Linked DNA regions of Homo sapiens: region 2 is linked to region 1. Evidence: promoter capture Hi-C in 16 types of primary human blood cells and fetal thymus (Javierre and others, 2016). All regions are on one chromosome and are shown on one strand. Each heading gives the region's core, a stretch centred on a gene start or on the middle of the fragment in contact. The rest is flanking DNA. Distances are from core to core; before and after follow the strand shown.

The links. Contacts are between HindIII fragments. The CHiCAGO score rates a contact against its expected background, and 5 or more counts as called.
Region 2: a contact is called between a fragment that was not itself captured here and the fragment with the promoter of APCDD1 in region 1, in 2 of 17 cell types (M1 macrophages and naive B cells). The highest score is 6.2, in M1 macrophages.

The regions. Positions count from the first base shown.
Region 1 is chr18:10,451,846-10,459,661 of GRCh38, forward strand. It overlaps APCDD1 (APC down-regulated 1), which reads left to right and starts at 2,790. Exons shown (of 5, transcript NM_153000.5): 1 at 2,790-3,194. The coding sequence starts at 3,137. The HindIII fragment of the contact is 7,093 bases long and covers 1-6,464 here.
Region 2 is chr18:10,184,557-10,192,372 of GRCh38, forward strand. No RefSeq gene overlaps it. Among named protein-coding and RNA genes, the nearest start is that of LINC01254, 230 kb to the right of the region's middle. The HindIII fragment of the contact is 5,806 bases long and covers 1,278-7,083 here.

The DNA.
Region 1 (7,816 bases), core at 1,540-4,039:
TCCATCAGCATGGCCAGGGTTATTTATGAACAGCTCCAGATATTCTAACACACTTGTTGATGCTCTTAAGGGGATCCTGTCCAGCTGTCCCTGCCAAAGACACTCCCATTATCACCAGGACCTGGGCTCCACATGTTCCTGCTTGAGGCTTGGGTTCTCGTAAGTGGTTTGGGGAATTCCCTGTGCTTATTTCAGGGGTCCCGATTCTGTGCTGGATTTAACAGCCACTTATTACCTCCCTAGCAATGCTTGCTTCCCAGTTCTATTACTCTAAACATATATCCACAAATAACCTCTCTAAGACAAATTTACATGTCTTCCTTTTCCTTTCATTATTCTTCTCCAGAAAGAGGTACATTAACAGCAGAAGTGAAAAGTAATGCAGAAAATGAACTTATCCTCGGACAAATCTAGATCTTCTCGACTGTTGGACGTTGCGGGGACATTTTCAGGCAGTAGTAACTCTGGCAGGATGTTATGTTGAGGGTCGAGTATTTAAATCTATGACACTACATGGGGAAAATAAACTGGCAAAACAAATTTGAAACTGCTGACTTCATTCTGGCTACGTTTATACCACACCAGTAAAACCAGTTGGAAAAACAAAAATTGAAGCAACTTGACTGTCAAAATGACACCAAATTACAGCTGACCTGTTGGTTTTATCCTTTTTTTAATAACAAAATCAAAAAATTAAGCACATACATGACCTAACTGTTCTTCTAATATGTGATGAATAACCTAAACATTTTTCCATTGCTGTCAACCTATTTGCTTATACAAAAATGCACCACCCCTAACACTCTCTTAGCCATTTGCTTGTTTCAAATATTCTTTGATGGACTAAAAGGCATCAAATGACTAAAAGACATTGAAAAACTAAACACCACTTCATATGTGTTCTTGGTGACAAGGCTTTTGTTCTGCATAACCAACCAAGTATGCTGTTTACATCGTTTCCAACTGCCCAACATTCGTGAAGAAGTCAAATTCTTGGTTTAAAATGAAAATTTGATTGGCCCTTGGCAAACATTCAAATCTTACAAATCATAGTCTGCTACCCAAGCCTAGCAACTGGGATGAGAGAACGATCAGGTACAAAGTCAGGCTCAGAAAGATGTGGCAGAGCAAGACTAACACAAAATAATGCCTGCGCTCATAGGCATCGTTTTCATGATCTTCTTTTTGCCCACACAGGTATTCTTTCATCTTCAAGATTTGCAAACAGGAGCACATTAATCTTCACAACATCCGTGTGAGCTGAGCAGCTGGTACATCTTATGATCCTCTGTATTAATGATGGAAAGATGATAATGATGGTGATAAAAATTAAGACACATCAAACAGCGTCAGCACTATCACATCAAAACACCCATGGATTTCTCAGGTTAAAAAAAAAAAAAGAAAAGTGGAAACTGTCAAATGTATTCTCATCTATTTTACTATTATACCGTTGCTAAGATCCAACTACTTTTGAAAGTCTAACACATAAGGAGTTGAATTATTGCATTGTTCAAAGGGGCAGAGAATTCTCTTGGGAAATCAGGCATTTATTTTAATCTTTTTTTTAAATGAAAAACACTAACGGTTGCGTCAAGAAATGTTCTCTAGACTCCACTGGGTCTCCTGTCTGCTCTTTATCCTAGTGTGGAGAAGAGGTGACATTAACCTTAGGAGGGGGAAAACTGCTGGAAGAGGGGAAGGGCTCAAGCAGGCCCTTGGCAGAGGAGGGACCTTCCAGGTAAATCAGATGGCCACTGCCTTGTACCCGCATTGGAGAACGAAGGACCCCAGGGGAAACTCTTCCTGCCTTTGGGTCTCAAACGCCCATGTAGTCCCCCCTCCCCCACAAGACCGCGAACACAAATAAAATCAGCTTTGATTGTGGTGATTCAATTTGCTCTGGAAGAGAAGAGGACTCGGCGAAGGGGCCTAAGTGCACGTTCTTAGACTGACAGGGAGCGTTTCTCGGAGATTTCTCCCGTTTCAACAAGTCATTTGCCTAGTGGAAGGGGGAGGAAAAAGTGAACGGGCTCCTGCCTCCTACACCGTGCCCTTCCCAGGTTGGGGCCTATGACAAGGTTCTCCGTGCTCCCCAGAGGAGCCAGGCACTGGGCCGGGGTAGGCGATTTGTAGTGAAGACCTGCACCGCACCCACGAGGGGGCCCAGCACTGACGCATCCTCACCCCCAGCAACCCTCCAGGACTCTCTCTTTGGTCTCCCCTCTCTCCCATGGCTGCGCGCTGGCACACACCCCGGCTCAGCAGGCCGCTTTGCTTGGATCCCACGCCAGGCCTCCAGCCTCGCCGCCCGCACCCCCTTTGAACACCTTTCCCCAGGGGAGTGGGCGGAGGCGGAAGGGTGACCCGCGCATTCTCTTTCCTTGCGGGCGGGGTGCGGGGCCAAAGGCTCCCACCCCCTCCAAGGAGGAAGCGCGCCCGGAATGGGGGACGGGGAGGAGAGAAAGGGGTGCGCAGAGCCAGAGGGAGGCAGAGGGGCCTGGAGGGAGGAGAGGAGGAGGGGAGGATGGAAGGGGTAGGAAGCTGGAAGAGGAGGGGTAGGCGAGAGAGGGGAAGGAGGGAAGCGGGAGGGGAGCGGGGGGAGGAGGGGCGCCCGGAGTGGGAGGAGGGGAGGCGTTGCCCGACGCGCCCTTTCAAGTCTCCGCGCTCCCCCCCGGCGGCGGCTGCCCGGGGGCGGTGGCTCGGCGTCGCCTCCCCCGACCGCCCCCTCCAGGGCCCCTCCTCCGTGCCGCGGCCAGGCTGCCCGGCCGGCGGCGCGCTGGAAATATGAAGAGACGCTGCAGCTGCGGTGGCGGTGGCGGCCACTGCAGCTCAGAGCGGCGCACGCGGCGGCCGGGGCGGGACGCGGGGCCGGGCGCGGAGAAGTCGGGGCGGGCGGCAGAGAGGCCGGGACGCGGACCGGGCCGGGGCGCCCACAGCCGCCCGACGGCGCCCAGAGAGCGCGCGCCCCGCAGCCCCGCGCCTAGCCCGCCGGGCATGGGGCGCGCGGCAGCCGCCTGAAGCCCCGGCCTGGCCCGGCCGCACCCGGCCGGAGGCGGAGGGCAGAGCGCGCGCCCAGTTGCCCGGGCACCAAATCGGAGCGCGGCGTGCGGGAGGCCCCAGAGCAGGACTGGAAATGTCCTGGCCGCGCCGCCTCCTGCTCAGATACCTGTTCCCGGCCCTCCTGCTTCACGGTGAGTTCCCGAGGGCCACTCGAGCGCTCCCAGCCGGCGGAGGCAGCCCGGGCGCCGCGGAGCCCGCGGAGGCGTCGGGTCTGGATCGCGGCACGGCCTACACTGTCCCCTTGGCGGGGCGGGTCCGAGGGGAGCCCCGCGCCTGCCGTCTCAGCCCTGGGAGAGGGGGCTCTGCCCACTTTCCGAGGCTTGGGACCGCTCTCCCCCAGGGCGCCCGGAGCTCTTTGCTGCGGGACTGTTCTTTTTGGAAGGGTGGAAGCTCTCCCACGCAGACACCTTTTATGTCCAGAATCCGTTGCATCCAGTCCGAGGGAAACTTTCGTCCGCTCTGCTGGATTTTCCAACTGTACACTGCCATGAAATCGCCGGCTCTGCGAGCCTTTTTCCAAAATGCCAGAATGCAGCAGGCTCTTGATGTGTTCCAAGCGTTTAGGAGAGTGGAAAGAGAAACTGATCATTTGGGAAAGACACGTCTGTCTGCCTTCTGAAAACTAGTGTTTGTTGTCTGCCTGCACTTTGCCTCGCGATTGAGGCGGGGTTGTGGGGTTTTCTCCCAAGTGGACTGTTGCGTTCTCTGGGTGTAATTTTAAGAAACAGGGGACCCCTATTAGCCAAGATTTAATCATTATTACCAGTCTCCCAATGTGCACCCCAACTTGACGTCCCATTTCCTGGGCTTCCAGTGCCACTTTTCCCCAGGGGTTCTAGTAAACCTTTAGCTAGAGAACATCAGCCCTTTCAGCGGGTTCCAGAAATTGCGCTGAAAACACCAAGACAGAATTTCTTTGGGGTGGACAAGGCAGGTTTTATGGCGCGTCGGGTTCATAATCCTGACAAGCCGTGGCAGATCACGTCGTGTTGATGTGGATGTCCTGAGCAAACTGTCCCTAATGGTCAGACACCTGACGTTTCAACAGCATGACTTCACGGCTCTCCTTCCTCAACACCCACCACAGCCACCCCAAACCTGTAGCGGGCTCCGGCTTCAGAATGCATGGTAGCCAGGACTGAAAGTCAGGCTGAGGACCTTCCCTCCGGAGGATCAAGGAAAGGGAAGAATTGTTAACCCACAAGCCACCGGGATGCTGTTTTCTTTGTAGTCCTGCCCCAGGTGGATGGCTCGCATAGCTCCACAGGCTTTGTGAACTTGTCTGGCTGGGCCAGACCTGTCCAGTTGCCAAGGTGTACTCAGAGCCCCAGTGATCCCAGAATTTTAACAGTCGGGATGGAAGGCTTGCAGAGGGCAAAAAGAGAGAAGGTATAATTATAGGGTTGGACTCCTAGGCCCATCTGCTTAGAATTACAGAGCAGTTTTAATCTTTGGCTGAAACATGAAACAAATCAGAGCCAATGAACAGATCAAACAGCAGCTGCCACACACACAAGAAACAAAAGAGAGAGATGAAACAGGAAACATTGTCCCCCTTAAAAAAATTGTTGTAATATCTGTGAAGAAAAAAGATAGTATGGTCAAATGATTTTAAAATTTAAAAAATTACTTAAAAAGTTGGCATGAACAGCATTTTTTGGGGTAAAATCATTGCCTTTTAAACTACAAAAGTGATCCTCAGAGATGCAACCTTGTACACAAGGTAACTCTGAACATGTTCTCCCTATTTTGAGAGGTAGGGGTTGTAATTATACTTCCTATTTAGCAGTCCAAGCTGGGGTAGTAATGGCTGACAGGTAACAAGAGCCCAAGTATATCCTCAATGAAGACAGGAGCTCCAAATCTCCTGAGTTTGAGAATTTGAGTCTGGAATCTTCCATAACTCCGGGGATCTGAGGGAGGAGGGCTCCCCAGACCCCATGGTGTTGGGAGGGGGATTGGGGAGCAAGGAAATAACTGGGAAGGGCAGTCTGAGCTATAAATGGGAGCACAGTGGAGACAGACCGTGTGCGTGCTGGTATGTGTGTATGCATTTGTGTGTACACATATGTGCATATGTATATATGAAGATAAGATAAAAAGGGAGGTTTGCAAAGTTGAGTTGGGTTACATGGATAAACCGATAAAAAGTTATCCAATTTCAGAAAGAATCTGCAATGGCACAATTATTAAAACTAATGTTGCTCAAAGGTCTACTTAGATCCAGCAGAGAGTATCAGACTCTAGTGCAGAAAATAAACAGAGGAAATCATTGTTCAAGTTATAAATCCTCAGGATTTAAGAAAGGTTTGCCATAATTAGCAAGGATAATGTAAAGCACCAGAAAAGAATGGGATATTCTTCCTTTCCCCTTTCCCCCATGACATCTACTTGATTGAAGTACTTTTAACAGCAAATGGGTATTACTCAACCTAACCAAGGGAATGGTTTGCTGAATATGTCGTACTCAACTGATAGGCGCTTTGCAGGCATTTAAGAATTCTGTAGTAACAGATGGAGTGTGATCATATATTTAAATAGAAGTTATAAATCTGAAGGCAATTCTTGAAATCTTCTAAGGAATTAGTGATTTTTTTTCCTGATAAATAGGCATTTTATTTTGCTAACCATAGGATACCATTTGTCTATTTATGGGTCAACTTAGTAGATAAAAGCATTTGTTCTATGGTGTTGGATGTTCCTGTGATAAACTTTAATAAATTTAGTTTCACACATCATTTAGAGATTTATTTGTTACACCACCAAGTCAGGTTAAGAAGTGCAAGAAGTGCATCCTGTGTGAGGATGCAGTAGATAACCATTATGTTTGGCATCCAGTCTTTGTTCGGTTTTGTGGCTACTTCTATTTCAATTCATTGCAACTTATAAATCACCCCTAAATCCTATCAGTGAGTAAATGAGGCTCTGGCAAGACTTGAGCCTGTTGTTTATTTAAGACTGCAAATGTGGTGCGAGACCCAAGTTCAAAATTTGATGGCATAAAAGTATACATGTCAGTTTTACTTTCCTCCTCTTCAAATTCTGAAAACAATTGCAGTACTTAATCCAAATAAAGCCTATTTAATGTCATGAAGGTATGCAGCTGGAAGATGTCCATTATCACTGTTTTCTTTGCTTAGATAAAAGCCACAAAAGTTTCAGATGTCAAATTCTAGAAACCATTCAGCTCCAAAACACAGATTAGCATGAGGTATCCAGAATAAGTGTGACTGTAATGCCGCAGTGGAGTGCCTGATTCTCTTTGCTAATGGAAACATTTGATTTTGAGTTTTGGAGCTGATGTTGGGAGAGATGTTCTATTCCCACACCCTGTTTACTTTTGTAGAATTCGTTGACTTTTCTGAGAGGTGAAGGCTCTTTCAGCTCTCTCCTTTCATTAAAGCTTATTCTGTCAAGACTTTTAAAAACTTTGCAGATTACCAAATGAGAGTTTAACCGACATAATGTGAGGAAACGTTTATACAGGGTAAAATAGAAATCTTTGAAAAACTATTTTACTAAGGACAGTTTTTGTGACCAAGAAAACATTCTTTCCTGCACTTTTTTCCCTCCTCTTAGTCATAAAAAGAAAATGAAGTCTTGAAAAGAAGCATGACTCACCTGTACCCAACAGGGGCAAGGGTCTCAGACAGATGTTAAATATCCTCTGTTAAAGAGATTGACAAGCCAATTTCATTCTTTTATACTAGCTGAGTTCATTCTTTTTCCCCTTAAATGAGAAAAGAACTAAATATAGGTGGGTGATATGTCTGTGTAATTACATACTACTATTTAGGGACAGACTGATGACAATATAATCAATCAAAGGGAGGCATAAAACATTTCAGACCAGAAATAGAAGATGATGTGTTAGTGATTGTCTACATCGGTTGAAAGATACACAGCAAGGCATGTCTTCAGTAGACTCTTCCCCTGGAGTTGAAGTGATCGCAGGGAAAACCAGGAAAAAATCCGCTACCATCCTGGACGTATGAGTTCTTAATGGGTTGGTTTTGTGTACATAGGCCATTGCTTAGTCCTCTCCAGTTTGGGAATAAAATTATTGTGGAAAGTCATGTGATAGGTATGTACATCTCAAGGTTGGAGAAAGGATATGGTATCATCCTAAAATTATTAAGGATATTCTGTTCTGCAAGGGTTTTCCGGTTTCATTCATTCAGCTAACCATTTATTCAGAAAGTTCATCTATGAGGGCCTACTATGTGCCAAGTGCCACCACTTGCCAGGTCCACTGGCCGAAAGGTAGCATTCTCCCTTCCTTGAGGATTCTTGAAGAATATCTAGGTGAGAGAAGGGAAGAAATACTGATTGTAGAGCCCCAGAGCTGAGTGGATGGCACACTGCAGTTGATTGCACTATTTTCCCTGCTGGGAATCCCACAAGCGTGCACACACACACACACACACACACAGACCACAACTGTGTTGAAGAGGGTGGATGTGGCTAGTCAGCTGCAGATCCAACATGCAAACTTTGCAACCTCTGGTTCAGCTCCAGTGTCCACCCTGAGGACTATGGCACTATAAAGTGGCACAGAAAAGTAACTTGTTTTCAACTAAAGTCAAGTGGAGCCAGGAATTTGAAAACTTGACCTTATTATATTGCTCATAAAGAGAGACGACTTTTAGATATGAAGATTTTAAGATGGGCAAAAGCAGCAAGCTTACTGCAAAAAAAATGGTAATAAAAACAAGAACTTGATAAGCAGAAGTACCACAATGGTGGTAAAATT
Region 2 (7,816 bases), core at 2,931-5,430, 270 kb before region 1:
CAAAGTGCTGGGATTACAGCCATGAGCCACCACACTGGCCAATAGTTTTTTTTTCTGTTTAGACTATACATCCTTATACATTTTATCATCTTGAGTATTTGTTAGCAAGCAACCCTAAATTTGTATTTTTAAAGGAATGACTCTTAAGTGAAACAAAGTTGATGTGGTTTAGATGTTTGTTCCCTCTAAATCTCATGTTGAAGTGTGGTGATTTTTAATGTCGGAGGTGGGGCTTGGTGGGAGGTGATTGGATCCTGGGGGTCGAACCCTTATGAATGGTTTGGCACCATCCCGTTGGTGATAAGTGAGTTCTTGCTTAGTTAGTTCACATGAGATTTGGTTGTTCAAAAAAAAAAAATCTGGGACTTCCCCTTCTCTCTTGCTCTCTCTCTCTCTCTCACTATGTGATATGCTGGCATCCCCCTTCACCTTCCTCCATGACTGTCAGCTTCCTGAAGCCCTCACCAGAAGCTGAGCAGATAGTGGTGCCATGCTTGTACATTCTGCAGAAGTGTGAACCAATTCAACTTTCTTTCTTTATAAATTATGCCTTTATAGGAATGAAAGCCTCAGATATTCCTTTATAAGAATGTAAGAACAGCCAAATACAAAGACAGAAAATGTTTATCTCAAAAGTACAGAGCTGAGATGTTAGGCTCAAATATTGTATTATAATTTGTTCAAATTAAGGAATGAGAGTATAGGTAAAGGCCCAGGTAAGACAATATGTCAAGGAAAAATACCTCAAGTAAAAGTAAGACTAGTTATGTAAACTTAAACTAACAGTAAGAGGTTTTAGTTACTCATTTCTTCCTCTCTTTTTGATGCAGAGAGGCAGATATCTTTATAACTGAATTTTTTTATAGATGTGAATTTTTTTAAAAAAGGGTTTGAAAATGGCCACCTTAATGTTGTAAGCTGTATTTTGGAGGCAGATTTAGTTTAATAGGTGGTCTTTTTAACTTAGTTATTATTTTTTAGCTAAAATTATTGAGCTTAAGGTGGAGCTCATTAAAGAATAGGGCAAAGAAAATATTTTCTACGTCTGGACTCAGTATGGACAGCTCCGAAAAATAAGTATGCCTGTTCTACCTGAGGGTCTATCTTTTATAAATATTTTATCTAGAATAGCCTTTTAAAAAGCCTTTATAGAAGGATAGTAATTAAGCCAAAAGGCTAGCAGATTTAAGTTTCTAAATTAATTAGTCAATTAAGATTTTAATTTGTTTTTTATAGTCTTTTGAAAGAGGCAATAAAAATATTGAAAAAATTTTAGAAGCTTCTACACATTAGTAAACATTTTTGGATCAGTCTAATTTAAGAACCCTTATTTTTAAATGTATTTTTTAATGTGTAGTATTGTTTATTTGGAATATTGCATTCTAATTTTACATTATTTTTAGTAAGATTTTGTCTTTTTTGTAAGTGTTTCTGGTTTTGGGGGGTCTAATGCTTATATATGTGTGGGTAGTTGTAGATGGAAGGGGGGTGTTTTGTTTTTTAGAATTTAAAGATCTCATTTTACATTGAATTTTGGCTTTGGCTCTCAGATCACCTTTATTAACTTAGCCAGTGATTTTTCTCTACCTCACCATGCAAGAAAAAAATAGGGGTGGGAAATAGAACACAAACACCCCCGTGAAAGCCCCCCCACCCCAATTTTATTATTCACTGCCAGTTTCTGTCTGGCCCAGTTGGACATCTGAGGCTTCTACATGGATCTAAGCCAGTTAATTATCAGATCTATCCCATCCTGGACTCAGTCCAGTTTTTATTGGGACTTTTCAGCCCAGTTTGAATAAAAAATTTGTTCAAACTCAAAGAGCTGAAAACACAAATCCATGGAACCTCAGAACCTGAGAGAGAACTTACCCATGATTCCTAGCTTCTGTGAGAAGGCAGTGAGCACAGTGGGTCTGCTGAGTACCTCACTTGGTCGCTCAATGCTCCTGGGGGTCACTGGAAGTTAACTTTCAAGTCTCACTTCTGACACCATTTGTTAGACAAATTAAATTTAACAGAGTTTAATTGAATAATGAATGATTCACAAGTCAGGCAGCACACCCCTTGTTACCCCCTCTTCCAGCCCCACCCAACTAATTAGAATAGGTTTGGGAGACTCTGGCAGTGCTGTGTGGTTGGAAAGGATTTATGGACCGAAAGAGGAAAGTAATGTGCAGAAAATGGAAGTAGGGTATGGAAACAGCTAGATTGGTTACAGCTTGGTGTTTGCCTTATTTGAATGTGGTTTAAATAGTTGGCGACCTGTGAATGATTGAAGTCTGGCTTCTATCATTGGCTGAGACTTGGCTCCTTGTTACAAGAGCACGTTACACCTGTTTACACATGCAGTTAGGTTACAGTTCACTATATATGGAGAAATGTTAGGCTGAATTTAAAATATATAAGGAGGCAGCTTTAGGCTAACCAAATTTAACAGTAGACAGCAAACACTGAAGGCCAAGTCTCTTGACTTACATTCCAATTTCTTTCTACTACAACCCAACAGTCTCTGAGACTCTACATTAATAGCAGTCTGGCCTTCAAGTTATTAGAGCATTAAATGTCAGAAGCATGCTGTCCTAAACATGGAAAATCTATGAGCTTCCCTTTTACCTGTAACTATAATCCCATTGCACACAAAAGCTGCTGCATTTGATAGGTGAGAAAAGGTGTAGAAACTGTGGATGTACCTGTAGGACTCAGCTCCTGTAGGGAAGCTGTCTCTGGCCCTCTAAGGCTGAATTAGGGACATTGCCTATGTGGAATGAAGTGCCCCAAGCTCGCCCTTGTTGCAGAATTTACGTCACTGCTTACTTATTCTCCCCCCTTCTAGAATGTGAGTTTCTGAGGACACAGTCTGGCTTGTTTATGATTTATTCTTAGAGCACTTAGTGTTCAATAAAGAGGCATCAAAAAGATTCAAAAATAGGACATCAAGAAACCTGTGATATAATACTGTATAAGATTTTTCTCATACATGCTGGCCTTTTAAGAATAATGTCTGGCTCTTAGACAGTGTTTACTGTGGCCTGGGCATTGTTCTAAACTCTTTCCTGATGGAAGCCTGTGGCTAGTGTGCATTAACTATCAGGTGGGCACGATCACCACCCCTGTGGCCTAGAGAGCTCAGCAGTTGACCCAGTGTGGCCGAGCTGGCTGGTGACGAAGTCAGGGTGTGAACAGGCTGGCTCTCGCATCAAAGCTCTTGGACTCCTACCAGAAGGCAATACCTGATCAAGTGAATCCACACAGTAGCTGCTTGTGTTTTCACACCTGAGAAAAAGCATTTCCACTATGTTAGCACCAGTACTTTGTCCAAGTGAGGACAGAGTGGGGCTAAGATTACGCTTGGGGACTCTTAGCTGTCATCAGTGGATTGTGTGTGGGGTGTGTGTGTGTGTGTGCGAGGGGTGACGCCAAGTTTTGGTGACCAGTATCTCCCAATAACCCTCTCTCATGACCATGTTTGGTGGATCTCCAGAGCCCTCAACTGATAGTTAAAGATATTAGAAATAACTTCTTCTCAGATTCAAATAAATAAAATCAGAAATGAAAAAGGAGATGTCATGACTGATACCATGGGAATACAAAGGATCATTAGACACTATTATAAACAACTATACTCCAGTAAATTTGAAAACCTATTAGAAATGGATAAATTCAGCCAGGCACAGTGGCTCATGCCTGTAATCCCAGCACTTTGGGAGGCCGAGGCAGGCAGATCACGAGGTCAGGAGATCAAGACCGTCCTGGCTAACACGGTGAAACCCCATCTCTACTAAAAACATACAAAAAAATTAGCCGGGCGTGGTGGCAGGTGCCTGTAGTCCCAGCTACTCAGGAGGCTGAGGCAGAAGAATGGCGTGAACCCGGGAGGTGGAGCTTGCAGTGAGCTGAGATCACGCCACTGCACCCCAGCCTAGCCTCGGCGACAGAGTGAGACTCTGTCTCATAAAAAAAAAAAAAAATGGATAAATCCTTGGATACATACAACCTACCAAGACTGAACTAAGAATAAATAGAAAACCTCAGCAGACCAATAACCAGTAACAAAGTTGAATCAATAACAAAAAGTCTCTCAACAAAGAAAATCCCAGGACCAAACAGCTTCACTGCTGAATTCCACCAAATGTTTAAAGAACTAATACCAATTCTTCTCAAACTCTTCCAAAAAATTGAAAGAGTTAGAATTCTTCCAGACTCATTCTACAAAGCCGGTATAACCCTGATCCCCAAACCAAATAAGACCACAGCAAAAAATGAAAACTTAAGGTAGGGGGCAATAAAGCCTTGGACTCTGATGTTCTCTCTGAACCCCAGCTACAAGGAAATGCACTTTAAACATTTAAATCCACCAAGGTAAAGAGCTTGGCTTTGATACTGGGCAAAGTTCCTAGGGCAATGATTAAGTATGGACTCCACAATCATTGGGAGAAAATGGGAATTTTGCCCCAATAAGTCATCACCCAGATGCCCACCCTCCCTTCTTTCCCCTCTCCCCATCCTCTGTCCCTCTATCTTCCTCTAGGAGAGGGGTAGGTTGCCACGACAACACCAGAGTTAATGGCCCCATTTGGCCAGCCTTAAAGCCCAGCTCATTCTGGCCCAGGGACATCTCATTGGGAAAGAGATTCTGGATGTTTGACAAATGCTCAATTTGGCTAATAGAACCTGTGTATTTACTTGGTGCAAATTAAACAAGTCTGGATGTACAAGTTTCATTGTCCAAAGGGAGAAGGAGAGATGATTAGAGGAAGGTAGGAGGAGGGGAAGAAAGAAGGGGAATTCCAGTGGCCAGAAAAGTTTCCGATGCCTGATTTGTCCTGTGTCAGGGTCTGCCTTCATCACGTTACCAGGAGCTGGCTGTAGGAAAGAAAAAACAATCCCGAGACGACGAGACTCAAATCAAATAGGCCTGATGACAAGAGTCTCAATGGCACAGAGGTCCATTTCTATCCATCCTTATTGGAATCATACTAAGTGAGTCTCACAAGCAGGCTCCCAACAGGCTGACTGTGAGTTTCTCTACCAAATGAGACTGTGACCGGGGCCCAGGCTGTGCCAGCGTCCAGAGGGCTAGTGCTGTGGACTTATTCACACGTGCACTTCTTGACACTGATGTGTAAGCCAGGCCTGCTGTCACACTGGAGTTCCAGATGCTAGCAAACCAAGAGAAAACCTAAATCAAATAATTCCATGCAGTGATTAGTGCCGTAAGAAGGTCCTATAATTAGAGTGGCTTTGTGGCTGAGCAGAGGGGCCGGAGAGGAAGTTGGGGAGGAATGCTAGCTGGGCTGCTCCGGGGTCCTCTCTGAAGAGGGGACACTGGAGCAGAGCTCTGAATGGGGGGCTGTCTGTGCAGCCTCCAGTGGGCTTGGAGGCCTGATGGGCTTCAGCAGTGAGGGGCTGATGGGGAGCAGGAAGAGACTGGCAAGAGGCTTTTCCTTAGGTGCCGAGACTGACAATGAAGCAAGGCCTCTGGGGCCTGGACAGAGAACACAGCCTCAGATGGGCTCAGGGCTGGTAGAAGTACAAGAGAGGGAACATGGGCAGAGTTGTGTCCTGTGGATGACATCACTACAGGCCAGGTGGACACTGGGGACGGGGGCAGCTGAGAATGGGTGTTCTCAGGGACACAGGCACTGATGACTCACCCTTGCCCCTTTAACCCAAGGTTGCCAACCCTGTCTCCATCCACACCCATCAAGACTGTGGGACCAGGGCTATGGATGTCCGCTTGTGGGCTCAGGCTGCCTCCTGGAACCAGATATAGAATGGCCTCCGAGTGGGACCGCCCATGGAGAACAAGGGGAAGCGAGGTCGGGCACACACGTTTCAGAGGTTTCTAGCTTTCAGCCTACATGCCTTGTGCAAGTCTGTGTCATGTGACAGAAAGAGTTAGAAGCCCTGGGTTCAAATCTCACCTGTGCCACTTACTAAGTGAACAACTGAATGAGTAGTTTCTCCTAACTGATCCATTTGTAAAATCTGGATAAGAGAAGTAACACCAGGATCGCAGTGTGGTTCTGAATATCAACAAAGGGAGGCAATGCAAACGACAATGAGTGGTCAGGAGCAAAGAACTATGCAATGTGAAGCATTAATTACACTCAGGTTCACAGAAGACAGGAACCCCCGAAAGAAATGCATCTAAATTAATTTAGTTTCTGTAGGTGTGGACAAGGCAAGGGAAATAACTGACTTCTGATTCATCTTACCACAGAAGAGCTGGAATAGCTCCTCTTGATTCCGCAAATGACCCTTTCCCAGGGGAGCTGCACTCCCTGAGAGTCTGCATGGGCCTCTGTCACATTATATAGGGATTTGCAATGGCAGGAGAGTGGCCCTGTGGTTTTCCCTCAAAAGGAGTTGTATGGAACACACTCAGTGTCTGCCATGCTTTCTATGGGAGAAAGTGGTTCTTCCTTGTGATAACTCCGCTCCACAAGTCTACCCACCACTCCCTCTGAGGGATGCTGCCTGGATTCCCTTTCCCAGTGCTTGCTCGCTCCTGGTTCCAAGTCTTCCACTGCTTGTTTGGAGCTGAATGGTGCCTCTGACCCCCCATTCATGTGATAAAGTTCTAACCCCTCATACCTCAGGATGTGGCTGTTTTGGAGCTAGGGCCTTTGAAGAGCTAATTAAGTTAAAATGAGGTCCATGGGTGAGCCCTAATCAGATAGGACTGGCGACCTTACTAGACAGAGACACACACAGAGGAAAGACCATGGGAGGACACAGGGAGGAGACGGCCATCTGCAAGCCAAGGAGCCCTCAGGAGAAACCAGCTCTGCCAACGCCTTGATCTCCAACCTCAGCCTCCAGAATTGAGAAGTACTTTTCTGTTGCTTAAGCTGCGCGGGATGTGGCGCCGTTACATCAGCCTCAGCAGGCTAGCCCACCATGCTGTTTCTCGCCTGGCCTGCATTGTGGTACTGCGTCCAGAGTTGGTTCCTGACGGTGGGTTCCTGGTCTCGCTGACTTCAAGACTGAAGCTGCTTCTCGGTGAGTGTTACAGCTCTTAAAGATGGCACGGACCCATAGTAGTAGTAAATTTTATTGTGAAGACCAAAAGAACAAAGCTTCTACAGCCTGGAAGGGTACCCCACTGGGTTGCTGCTGCTGGCTGGTGGGTGGCCAGCTTTTATTCCTTTATTTGTCCCTGCCCATGTTCCATTTCTGCCCTGTCAGAGTGCCCGTTTTTCAATCCTTCCTGCGATTGGTTACTTTTAGGATCCTGCTGATTGGTGCGTTTTACAGAGCACTGATTGTTGCATTTTACAGAGCACTGATTGGTGCATTTTACAGAGTGTTGATTGGTGCATTTTACAACCCCCTTGCTAGCTACAGAGTGCTGATTGGTGCATTTTACAATCCTCTTGTAAGACAGAAAAGTTTTCCAAGCCCCACTCGACCCAGGAAGTCCAGCTGGCTTCACACCTCTCAGTACCACTGAGGCTGTAGTCTCAGAGAGAGGAGACAAGGGGGAACGCACTTGTTGGTAAAAGCCACAGTGTGAATCCTGCTGAAATCCTACCTGGAAGCCCAGTGTGGCTCAGGATAAGTTACTGAACTTCTCAGTAGAGAGGGAGCCTGTCATGGCTCAATAGTGCCCCACAAAGAAATATGTCTGTCTCCTAACCCCTGGGACCCGTGACCTTATCTGGAAGTAGGGTCTTTGCAGGTGTAATTAAGTTCAGGATCTTGGAATGAGATGATTGTAGATTTAGGGTGTCCTTCTGAGAGAAAAGGGAGGGGATAAGACATCAACGCAGAGAGAGAAGGCCACGTGGAGACAGAAGCAGAGATTAGA